Regions from separate parts of the Homo sapiens genome. Here all the other regions are linked to region 1. The links are contacts of gene promoters, found by promoter capture Hi-C in blood cells and fetal thymus (Javierre and others, 2016). All regions are on one chromosome and are shown on one strand. The core of a region is centred on a gene start or on the middle of the fragment in contact, and the rest is flanking DNA. Distances in the headings are between cores, read along the strand shown. Region 1 holds the start of PYCARD (PYD and CARD domain containing). Region 2 overlaps ITGAM (integrin subunit alpha M). Region 3 holds the start of PRSS53 (serine protease 53). Region 4 overlaps KAT8 (lysine acetyltransferase 8).

Evidence for each region. The method cuts DNA at HindIII sites, captures the fragments that hold promoters and counts their contacts. A CHiCAGO score of 5 or more calls a contact.
Region 2: a contact is called between a fragment that was not itself captured here and the fragment with the promoter of PYCARD in region 1, in 8 of 17 cell types (M2 macrophages, M0 macrophages, M1 macrophages and 5 more). The highest score is 16.8, in M2 macrophages.
Region 3: a contact is called between the fragment with the promoter of PRSS53 here and the fragment with the promoter of PYCARD in region 1, in 1 of 17 cell types (neutrophils). The highest score is 5.3, in neutrophils.
Region 4: a contact is called between a fragment that was not itself captured here and the fragment with the promoter of PYCARD in region 1, in 1 of 17 cell types (M0 macrophages). The highest score is 7.8, in M0 macrophages.

The regions. Positions count from the first base shown.
Region 1 is chr16:31,201,328-31,204,071 of GRCh38, forward strand. It overlaps PYCARD (PYD and CARD domain containing), which reads right to left and starts at 1,433. Exons shown (of 3, transcript NM_013258.5): 1 at 1,090-1,433; 2 at 820-876; 3 at 159-514. The coding sequence starts at 1,363. The coding sequence ends at 258. It overlaps PYCARD-AS1 (PYCARD antisense RNA 1), which reads left to right and starts at 558. Exons shown (of 2, transcript NR_102400.1): 1 at 558-659; 2 at 1,133-2,125. RefSeq lists enhancers at 264-894, 1,084-1,313 and a silencer at 1,424-1,783. The HindIII fragment of the contact is 5,508 bases long and covers 1-2,613 here.
Region 2 is chr16:31,315,466-31,318,209 of GRCh38, forward strand. The region is part of intron 14 of ITGAM (integrin subunit alpha M); the gene reads left to right. Among named protein-coding and RNA genes, the nearest start is that of ITGAX, 38 kb to the right of the region's middle. The HindIII fragment of the contact is 2,960 bases long and covers 1-2,744 here.
Region 3 is chr16:31,087,599-31,090,342 of GRCh38, forward strand. It overlaps PRSS53 (serine protease 53), which reads right to left and starts at 1,345. Exons shown (of 11, transcript NM_001039503.3): 1 at 1,154-1,345; 2 at 208-228; 3 at 1-101. The coding sequence starts at 1,211. RefSeq lists an enhancer at 1,022-1,522. The HindIII fragment of the contact is 23,145 bases long and covers 1-2,744 here.
Region 4 is chr16:31,124,762-31,127,505 of GRCh38, forward strand. It overlaps KAT8 (lysine acetyltransferase 8), which reads left to right. Exons shown (of 11, transcript NM_032188.3): 4 at 2,274-2,327; 5 at 2,428-2,592. Among named protein-coding and RNA genes, the nearest start is that of KAT8, 8.5 kb to the left of the region's middle. The HindIII fragment of the contact is 7,764 bases long and covers 1-2,744 here.

The DNA.
Region 1 (2,744 bases), core at 183-2,682:
TGAATGAGGAGGGATATTCCATGGCGATACCAGGAAGGATGGGGGAAGCATTTGGGGTGCCAGAGACCCTAGGGACATGGAGCTGGAGGCTGGGTGGCCTCTGAAGCATAGCTGAGCTCTGCACATGCCAGCAGGCTAGAAGCAGGAAAACACACAAGTTCAAGCTGGCTTTTCGTATATTGTGTATAAAAAGATCAGATTCAGGATGATTTGGTGGGATTGCCAGGGGCTGACCGGAGTGTTGCTGGGAAGGAGCCTCAGCTCCGCTCCAGGTCCTCCACCAGGTAGGACTGGGACTCCCTTAGGGCCTGGAGGAGCAAGTCCTTGCAGGTCCAGTTCCAGGCTGGTGTGAAACTGAAGAGCTTCCGCATCTTGCTTGGGTTGGTGGGCTCGGCCCGCACTGCCTGGTACTGCTCATCCGTCAGGACCTTCCCGTACAGAGCATCCAGCAGCCACTCAACGTTTGTGACCCTCGCGATAAGCGCAGCCCGGTGCTGGTCTATAAAGTGCAGGCCTGGGGGTGGGAGGAGAACATGAGCCAGCAGCCAGGGTGTGGGGCCTGTCCCTGCTGAACTTGAGTTCTTCAGGAATTCCTCTGCAAGCCTAGGGGCAGGGCTCCAGGGGGCGGCCACCAGGACCCCACATGCAGTGGGATGAGGGTAATATTGTCTCCCTTCCCCCGCAGGGTGTGGGTTGGTGGGTGGGGTGCGCAGGGTTGCCAAGCCGTGCCTGCCCTGCCCTGCCCTGCCCTGGTTGCGGGAGCACAGATGCAGGCTGTGCAGGAGTGCGGTGGGGCCGGGCTGGGTGTGGAGGCCTCACCTGGCTTGGCTGCCGACTGAGGAGGGGCCTGGATCCCAGCTGGCGCGGCTCCAGAGCCTGGAAGGATATGGGCCAAGTGATCCCCTTCCCTTCCCTTCCCGCCGTGGGGCCGGGGTCCCGTTGGTCGGTAGGCCAAGCGTGGGGAGCCTCCTTTCCGGTAGAGCAGCTTTGTTTAGGGGTAGGAGGAACAGAAAGCGGAAGAGCCCGCGGGGTAAGCGCTGGTGTGGGTGGAGGGGAAAGACGGGGTGGAGGGGAACGGGGGCGGCTCACCCTGGTGCGTGGCCGCCTGCAGCTGCCCGGCCATCTCCTGCAGGCCCATGTCGCGCAGCACGTTAGCGGTGAGCTCGGCGCCGTAGGTCTCCAGGTAGAAGCTGACCAGCTTGTCGGTGAGGTCCAAGGCGTCCATGGACAGCAGCGCGCCCCGCGGGATGCGCCCGTAGCCCTCGCGCAGCGGCACCGACAGCAGCTTCAGCTTGAACTTCTTGAGCTCCTCGGCGGTCAGGTTCTCCAGCGCATCCAGGATGGCGTCGCGCGCGCGCCCCATGGCTCCAGGATCCCCGGCCGCTGCCGCCGCTCACCCCGCTGCAGCCGCCGACCAGGAGGAAGTCGGCTCCGGGGCGGAACCTGGACTCCCCGCCTTCCTCCCACTCTGGTCTCCCGACTCCCCGCCCCGGTCCGTTGCCCTCCAGCAAAAGGCGCTTCCTTACTACACCCTTGGTCCCCTCCCACCCAGGCCTCTGGATTGGGGCCCCAGGCCGTCGGGGGACGCCAGGATCGCGCCCTCCAGCTGGCCTGCGAGGTGGGACCCGGGAGGGGGCCGCAGAGGGGCTCATGGGTGGCGCCTGCTTGTCTCTGGGCTTGCACCAGCGGGTACAGACCGGAAACCTGGGCTGGCTCTCACTGGGTTTATTGGAGCACCTAGGCTTAGAACCTCGGATTTCTAGAACCCCGAAACCTCCGCGGTTCCCCGAACCTTAGGATCCTCTCCCACATGTCGTAGAATCTTGGAATCATGACAGCTAGAAGCGTGAAGCTCCCTCAATTCCACATACTGGGGAAAAATGAGTTGTACAAAAGGGCAGAGAGTGCAAATCTCTCTGAGCTTCAGTTTCATTTTCTACGACATGGGGATAACCCTCCGGTGCTTATAAATATTCCAGCATAACATGGCCAACCCGATGGCTCCCGAAACCTTGCCAGATGCTTCCTAGGGGAGCCAGAATTTGATCCCAACACTGATTAAAAAAAAGAAAAAAGAAAGAGAGACAGCCTCCAGGAGATTAAAGACCATGAACTTGAAGCCATACAGTTCTTTGTTTGAATCCTGACTCTACTTCCCAAGGGGGATATTTGGAATCCTTTATTTTTCCCTCTCATCTGGGTTGTAACAATCACTGTTCCTTGTAGTCATACGACCCTGACATATTATACGTTTATATGCTTATTGGACATTCATCCCTCTCTAAAATGTGAGGCCTATGAGCATCGGAGACCTTAACTGTCTTATTCTTTGCTGAATTCCTAGCGTCAAGAATGTACCTGGAAATAGCTGTGTGTGGTGGAGGGCGCCTGTAATCCTAGCTACTAGGGCGGCTGAGGCATGAGAATCGCTTGAACCTCGGAGGCAGAGGCTACAGTGAGCCAAGATTGCACCACTGCACTCCAGCCTGGGTGACAGAGCTAGATTCCATCTGAAAAAAAAAAATGTATCTGGAACACATTAGGTGCTGAGTAAAGATTTGCTGAGTGAAGGAATGAATGAGGCTGTGATGCCTGCAGCATGTTGTATTCAAAAGCTTCCAGCATGGCTGGGTGCAGTGGCTCATCACGCATGTCATCTCAGTGCTTTGGGAGGCTGAGGCCGGAGGGTCACTTGAGCCCAGGAGGTTGAGGGTGCAGTGAGCTATGATTGTGCCACTGCACTC
Region 2 (2,744 bases), core at 137-2,636, 110 kb after region 1:
AATTTTATTTTAGATGGAGTCTCTCTCTATTGCCCAGGCTGGAGTGCAGTGGCACGATCTCAGCTCACTGCAACCTCCACCTCCCGGGTCCCAGCGATTCTCCTGCCTCAGCCTCCCAAGTAGCTGGGATTACAGGCCTCCGCCACCATGCCTGGCTACTTTTTTGTATATTTAATAGAGACGGGGTTTCACCATGTTGGCCAGGCTGGTCTTGAACTCCTGATCTAAGGTAATCCACCCGCCTCAGTCTCCTAAAGTGCTGGGATTACAGGCGTGAGCCACTGCACCCGGCCCAGCACTTTTGATTTTTGTATTTGGTTTGAGATAAAGGCTCAGTTTCATTCTTTTGCCTGTGGATATCCAGTGTTCTTAACACCATTTGTTAAAAAGACTGTCCTTTCCCCATTGTATGCCCTTGGCACCTTTGTTGAAAATTAGTTGATTGTTGGCCGGGCGCGGTGGCTCATGCCTGTAATCTCAGCACTTTGGAAGGCTGAGGCGGGTGGATCATGAGGTCAGGAAATCGAGACCGTCATGGCTAACAAGGTGAAACCCCGTCTCTACTAAAAATACAAAAAATTAGCCGGGCGCGGTGGCGGGCGCCTGTAGTCCCAGCTACTCGGGAGGCTGAGGCAGGAGAATGGCGTGAACCCGGGAAGCAGAGCTTGCAGTGAGTCGAGATTGCGCCACTGCAGTCCGCAGTCCGGCCTGGGCGACAGAGCGAGACTCCGTCTCAAAAAAAAAAAAAAAAAAAAAAAAAAAAAAAAAAAAAATTAGCCAGGCATGGTGGTGGGCACCTGTAGTTCCAGCTACTCGGGAGGCTGAGGCAGGAGAATGGGGGAACCTGGGAGGAAGAGGTTGCAGTGAGCCTACATCATGCCACTGCACTCCAGCCTGGGTAACAGAGCAAGACTCCGTCTGGAAAAAAAAAAAAAAGAAAAGAAAATTAGTTGATTGTAAATGCATGGGTTCATTTCTGAGCTCTGTATTCTGTTCCATTGGTCAATGTCTCTGTTTTTATGTCAGTGTCATGCTGTTTTGCTGAGTATACCTTTGTGGTGTATTTTGATGTCAGGTAGTGTGATACCTCTACCTTTGTTGTTTATGCTCAAGATTGTCTTGGATATTTGAGGTCTTTTGTGACTTCATATTAATTTTAGTATTGTTTTTTCTATTTCTGTAAGAAATGCCATTGGGATTTTGGTAGGAATTACATTGACTCTATCGATCACTTTGAATAGTATGGACCTTTAAAAATATTCTTTCAATCCATAATATGGGATATCTTTCCATTGATTTTTGTCTTAACTTTCTTTCGTCAATGTTTTATAGTTTTAGTGTGCATATTTTTCACCTTCTTGGTTAAATTAACTTGTAAGCATTTTATTTTTTGATGCCATTGTAAATAGGATTAATTTCTTTTTCAGATAGTTTGTTGTTAGTGTATAGAAACAAATAATTTTTGTATGTTCATTTTGTATTCCATGACTTTACTAAATTTGTTTATTAAATTTGATAACTTTTTCGTAGAGTATTTATAACAAGTTTCTTATATATAAGATCATGTCAATTGCAAACAGGGACAATTTTTTTTTCTTTATTTCTAACTTGAATGCATTTCTTATCTTTTTCTTGCCCAATTGCTCTGGCTAGGACTTTCAGTACTGTGTTGAAATAGAAGTGGTGAGTGTGGGCATCCTTGCCTTGTTCCTAATTTTAGTGGTAAAATCAAATTTTCACCACTGGGTATGATGTTAACTAGACACTTTTTTTAATGTTCTTTATCATGTTGATGTAATTTCCCTGTATTTCTAGTTTGTTGAGGGTTTTTAATCATGAGTGGCTATTCCTGTGGCCTGAATGTTTGTGTCCTCCCCAGATTCATATGTTGAAGCCTAATTCCTTGTGTGATGGTATTTGTAGATGGGACCTTTGGAAGGTGTTTAGGTCATGAGAGTGTGGCCATCATTAATAGGATTAGTGCCCTTAGACAAAAGCAAAATGATGGTTGCCTATGAACCAGAAAATAGGCTCTCACCAGATATTGAATCTGCTTGCACCTTGATTTTGGATGTCACAAGTCTTCAGAACTATGAGAAATAAATTTCTATTGCTTATAACCCATCCAGTCTATGTTATTTGTTATACCAAATAAGCTAAGACAGATGTTTAGTTTTATTAAATGCTTTCTTTTCTTATTGATAAGATCATGTTATTTTTATTCCTTATTCTGTTAATGTGGTGCATCACATTTATTGATTTGCATATGTTGAGCCATCCTTGCATGCCAGGAATAAAGCCCACATGGTCATGGCGTATGACCCTTTTGTGCTATTGAATTCAGTTTGCTAGTATTTTATTTAGGATTTTGGATCTATGTTCAATAGGGAAATTGGCATGTAGTGATCTTTTCTCATGGTGTGTTTGTTGGGATTTAGTGTCAGGATAGTGCTTGCCTCATACAATAAGTTTGGAAGTATTCCCTCCTCTTCAGTTTTTTGGATGAGTTTGAGAAGAATTCATATTAATTCTTATTTAAATGTTTGGTTGGTAGAATTTGCCTGAGAAGCCACCAGGTCCTGGGCTTTTCTTTGTTAGGAGGTCTTTGATTACTGATTCAATTTCCTTACTCATTATAGATCTGTTTAAACTTTCTATTGCCTTATGATTCAGGCTTGGTAGGTTGTATATTTCTAGGAATTTATCCATTCCTTCAAGGTTATCAAGTTTGTTAACATATAATT
Region 3 (2,744 bases), core at 95-2,594, 110 kb before region 1:
GTGGGCTCCTTGCCTCCTCACACTGGCCTGCCAGGGCCACTCGCCAGGGACTGTGTTGCCCTCCTGAGGCTTGGGGGGGCCGGGGCCACGCTGTCCACAGGCTGTGGAAAGGAGTTAGTCACACTGACAGCAGATACCTGTCCTGACCTCACCCCAGTCCCAACCCAGACCCAAGTAAGACCTAGGCCCCGTGTCCCCAGACCTTACCACGCTGAGCGGCTTGAAGACCTGGGAAGAGAGAGACACAGGTAAGATGCAGGGACTCCAGGCCTGCCTAGCTTTGGGGAGGAGAGGGGATGGGCTGGGGGGCGGGCCCAGGGTCCTTGCCTGTGACTCTGATTACCTTACCAGCCCCTCCCAGAATGAAAATATTTATATGAGGCCGAGACAGCTTTTATTGGAACCTATTCAGTGTGCACACTCAGTAATTAATTCTCCTTCAGCTGTGCTCAGCACTCTGGGGCTTGGGGTTCAGCTTGGGAGTAGGCCAGCCCTCCTCCAGGCTTCAGAACCCCCAACTCCTGCCCCCGCCACTGAGTCAGCCAGGCGGCCTGTGTGTGTAGAGAGCATTAGCTTAATTGTCCTCTTAGCAGCAGAGGCCTAAGAGGAAGGATTAGAGGCCTGCATCATTTCCAAGTGGGGAGGGCCCCAAGAAATGGAGACTTACCTCACCCTGGTCTAGAGACTCAGTCTTCCCCACCTTCCCAGAAACTGTCTGAGAGCCCGCCAGAGAGAGGGCCCCTGCCCACCGCCCCTCACAGGCACACAGGCACCCCATGAGACAGCTGAGCCAGGCTGCCCAGAGGATGGATGAAAAGAAAGGGAAACTGAGGCCAGAGGAGCCCAGAGTTTGCCTGACGTCATTGTGGAAGTCGAGGGGGAGGCAGGCACAGGACACACGCAGGCAGCACCTCACACACACACAAGACCACAGGCCCCGCCAACGCAAACTGCAGCTGGCCCGAGAAAATCTCATCCATGTTGACACAGGTGGCCACATATACCACCCCACAGAGTCCTACGGAGTTACATCCCCACTGGTGGACTGTCGCCCACAGGCGGTCCCCCCACCAAGAAGCAGGGACTGCTGGGGCAGAGATGGCCCCTGAGCCCCCACCAGGCCACACCCATACCCCAGCACATGGCGGCTTACCCTCCATGAGGACTGTGGCACCCGCGATGAGCAGCACTGGGCCCCAGCACCACTTCATGCTGCCCCGGGCCACTCTGCCACCTGTGCTCCACTCTGAGAGAGGCCACCTGGGTCTCCCTGGCTCCACCTCTGCTCCACCTCCAGTTGGCTAGGATTCAGCTGTCTGCTTGCCCTAGCCAGCAGTTCCTAGCTCTGGGGCTGTGGCTGTGTGACCCTAGGCTTGTCACCACCCCTCTCTGGGCCTTAGCCGTGGAGCCAAATTGTCTGGGTTTAAATCTGTTTCCTTACTACTTGAGTGGCCTGGGAGAGCTAACCTGCCTGTGCCTTGTCTGAGAAACAGTTGTTGAATGGAAAACGTCTCAATGACAGCCTGGCACAGGGCAAGCTCACTCCCAGCATGAAAGTGCCATCCTGGAACCATGGAGGGCACGTGGGCAGCTCCTCCCAGTCCCCACTTTTCATTTCCACTCCCCCACTTCTCTTCCAGCCAGGGCTAGGTGGGTTTCACATGCCTTCTCCCAGGTCTGCTCAGAGACAGTGTGTGCCAGGCTGAGTGGTGAGGAGCCAGCACCCACTGCTGCTTGCTCGCTGTGAGCCTTTGGCAAATCCCAGTATCTCCCTGGGCCTGCTGGCTTCCTGGGAAACAGGGTGACAGCGGTGCCCACCTTCCTCATAGGCGCAGAGGACTCGGTCAGGCGGGAAGAACACTTTGGCGCGTGCCTCCTCTTCCTCTTCCCACTCCTAACTCAGGCTGGCCCAGACCATTCAAGAACCCTGACCCCAAGACAGAGGCAGCTGTGGGTAAGGTTTAGCATATATTATAGATGCTGGCCGGGCATGGTGGCTCACGCCTGTAATCCCAGCACTTTGGGAGGCCAAAGCAGGCAGATCACCTGAGGTCGGGAGTGCGAGACCAGCCTGACCAACATAGAGAAACACTGTCTCTACTAAAAATACAAAATTAGCCAGGCCTGGTGGCGCATGCCTGTAATCCCAGCTACTCGGGAGGCTGAGGCAGGAGAATCACTTGAACCTGGGAGGTGGAGGTTGTGGTGAGCCGAAATTGTGCCATTGCACTCCAGCCTGGACAACAAGAGCGAAAGTCCGTCTCAAAAACAAACCAACAAAAAAAAAAGCATATAGATGCTGGAGCCAGATGGACCAGGTGGATTCAAATCCTGAGAGCCTCCTGCAGTAGCTGTGTGATCTCAGGCATACTAATTAGCCACTCTGTCCCTATCATCAAGATAGGGATAATAATAGTACCCACCTCATAAATCACTGTAAAGATTAAACGAGTTTAACACGTTAACACAAGTTTTTTTTTGTTTTTTGTTTTTTTTTGGAGACGGTCTTGCTCTGTTGCTCAGGCTGGAGTGCAGTGATCATGGCTCACTGCAGCCTCAACCTTCTGGGCTCAAGCAGTCTTCCCGCCAGCTTCCCGATTAGTTGGGACTATAGGTACATACACCACCATGCCTGGCTAATTTTTTTTTTTTTTTTTTTTTGTAGAGACAGGGGTCTCACTATTTTGCCCAGGCTGGTCTGGAACTCCTGGCCTCAAGTGATCCTCCTGCCTTGGCCTCCCAAA
Region 4 (2,744 bases), core at 155-2,654, 77 kb before region 1:
CATGCCTGTAATCCCAGCACTTTGAGAGGCCAAGGTGGGTGGATCATCTGAAGGTCAGAAGTTCAAGACCAGCCTGGCCAACATGGTGAAACCCCATCTCTACCAAAAATACAAAAAATTAGCCGGGCTTGCTGGTGGGCGCCTGTAATCCCAGCTGCTTGGGACACTGAGGTGGGAAGATCGCTTGAACTCAGGAGGTGGAGGTTGTAGTGAGCCAAGATTGCACCATTGCTCCAGCCTGGGCAACAAGAGCAAAATTTCATCTCAAAAAACAAAATAAATTAGCTGGGAATGGTAGCAGGCACATGTAGTCTCAGCCACTTGGGAGGCTGACGTAGGAGAATCACTTAAGCCCAGAAGGCAGAGGTTGTGGTGAGCTGAGATCTCCCCACTGCACTCCAGCCTGGGCGACAGAGTGAGAGTCTATCTCAGAAGAAAAAAAAAAAAACATGTCTGTGCCGTGCTTGCCACTTGGAATAAATGGCAGCTCACTAGTCCCCGAGGGTAAGGGACCTCACCTTGCCCTGCCTGTTTACTACTCTGTAAAATTGAAATAACGCAGCTGGGTGCAGTGGCTCACGCCTGTAATCTCAGCACTTTGGGAGTGCGAGGCTGGTTGATCACCTGAGGTCAGGAGTTTGAGAACAGCCTGGCCAACATGGCGAAACTCCATTGCTACTAAACATACAAAAATTACCTGGATGTGGCGGCATGTGCCTGTAGTCCCAGCTACTTGGGAGGCTGAGGCAGGAGAATTGCTTGAACCTGGGAGGCGGAGGTTGCAGTGAGCCGAGATGGTGCCACTGTACTCCAGCCTGAGCAACAGAGTGAGACTCCGTCTCAAAAAAAAAAAAAAAAAAAAAAGAAATAACACTCTATGTAAGGGTTACTGAAAGGATTAAATGAGGCCATATAAACATATAGGCACAGTGCTTTGTGGAGGGGGTTCTGGGTAAAGCACTGGCTCCTTCCTCCCTTCTCAGCTACAGGGCAGGGCCTTGTCTGCCCTGGTGTAGGTCATGGACCGTCTTGGGTCCCCCTTCCATTGTCAGGCTGTACTGGGTTCCTCCCACAGGGTCTGGCCTAGGAGCAGGATGTGTTGTGAGTGTGGTGTGACTCTTAGTCTCTGCTTTCTAAGGACTTGAAAAATAGAGGAACCCAGGTGGGCATACTTGGACAGTGTTGCCCTGTTGACCACTTCTCGCTGAACTTGGGAAGGAGGGAATGTTTTCTGGATGGGAAGAATCCAGTCAGGCCTCCTGGAGGGGGTGGTAAGAATCTCAAGCCTTGAAGGATGGGAAAGAGCACAATAACAACAGTGACAAAGGATAGATCACAAAGCATCATGGACTCACCTGACTCATGCTCCGTGCCAGGCTGAGGAAGTGTTTTCTGCTGGCAGTGAGAGAAGGAAGGGCATTCTCCAGGTAGAAGGAGCTGTTTGTGCAGAAGCATGAAGGCCGCTAAAAGGGGGCTGCTGATAGCAATGAGGAGGCTGGGGCTGGAGGCAGGGAGTCTGAGGCGGCCTAGTAAATTGTCCAGACCTGAGATGGGGCCATGACTACCTGGAGCAGGACAGAGAGGAGAATTCCAGAGAGGGCCCAATTCCAGAGATGTCAGAAGTAGACTCGACATCCACTGTATTAGGACTTGGCCAGGCCGAGGGAGAGAGAGTAGTCTGAGGCAAGCCTAGTTATGGGTCTTGGACACTGGGACCAAGGGTGATGTTCCCAGTAAAATGAGCAACCCAGGAGGAGGCGCAGGTTTGCAGGGAGGAGTGATGAGGTCCTTTCTGCACATCTTGAGTCCGCTGTCCCTGTGGGAGGGACCTCTGGGGCAGTCGCATGGGCAGGCAGGGTCTGGTCCTCAGGAAAGGGGTCCAGGAACATCGGGGAGGTAGTAACAGTTCTTACGCTGGGCCTGGAAGGCAAATCTGTTATTTCATTTGAGTCTCACAACTTTGGCAGAGCTGGATTGCCCCCCATCGTGCAGCTGAAGCCCCATCCTGATCCTAACCCTGTTCATCTGGCAAAAGGTCCAAACTTGGACATCAGGGATGTCTGGGATATCGGGGGTGGGGCGGGTGGGTGTGAGAGGAGTCTGGACCAGCCAGCTTCAGAACCAAGTCAGATAGGTTAGCTATTGGTGTGGTTATTATTGCCATCCAGGAATGAGGTCTGGTAGACGGCAGGGAAGCCTTGTGGGTCCTGACGGGAGGGACAGCCTGGTCACCACTTCTGTTCACCTCTGCCCACTTTTCTTTCCTGGCCCAGACTTATGCAGAGATGGACCCCACCACAGCAGCCTTGGAGAAGGAGCATGAGGCGGTAAGTGGGGCTGGGAAGCTGCCTGCAGGTCCCCCGTCTCCCCTTGCCGAGGAGCCCCTGCTGAGCCGTGCACTGTGCCTCACTCCCACCCTGCCTGCAGATCACCAAGGTGAAGTATGTGGACAAGATCCACATCGGGAACTACGAAATTGATGCCTGGTATTTCTCACCATTCCCCGAAGACTATGGGAAACAGCCCAAGCTCTGGCTCTGCGAGTACTGCCTCAAGTACATGAAATATGAGAAGAGCTACCGCTTCCACTTGGTGAGGCTGGGCCGGCCGGGCCGAGCTGGGCAGGGGCCCGGTGAGAGGCAGAGGCAGGCATGGAGACTGAGGGCGGCTGCGCCGGCAGCTCCAGGGAGGAGACAGGCCCAAAGGAGCGAGTACAGGGAAGAGCTGCTGGGGGTCAGGAGGCC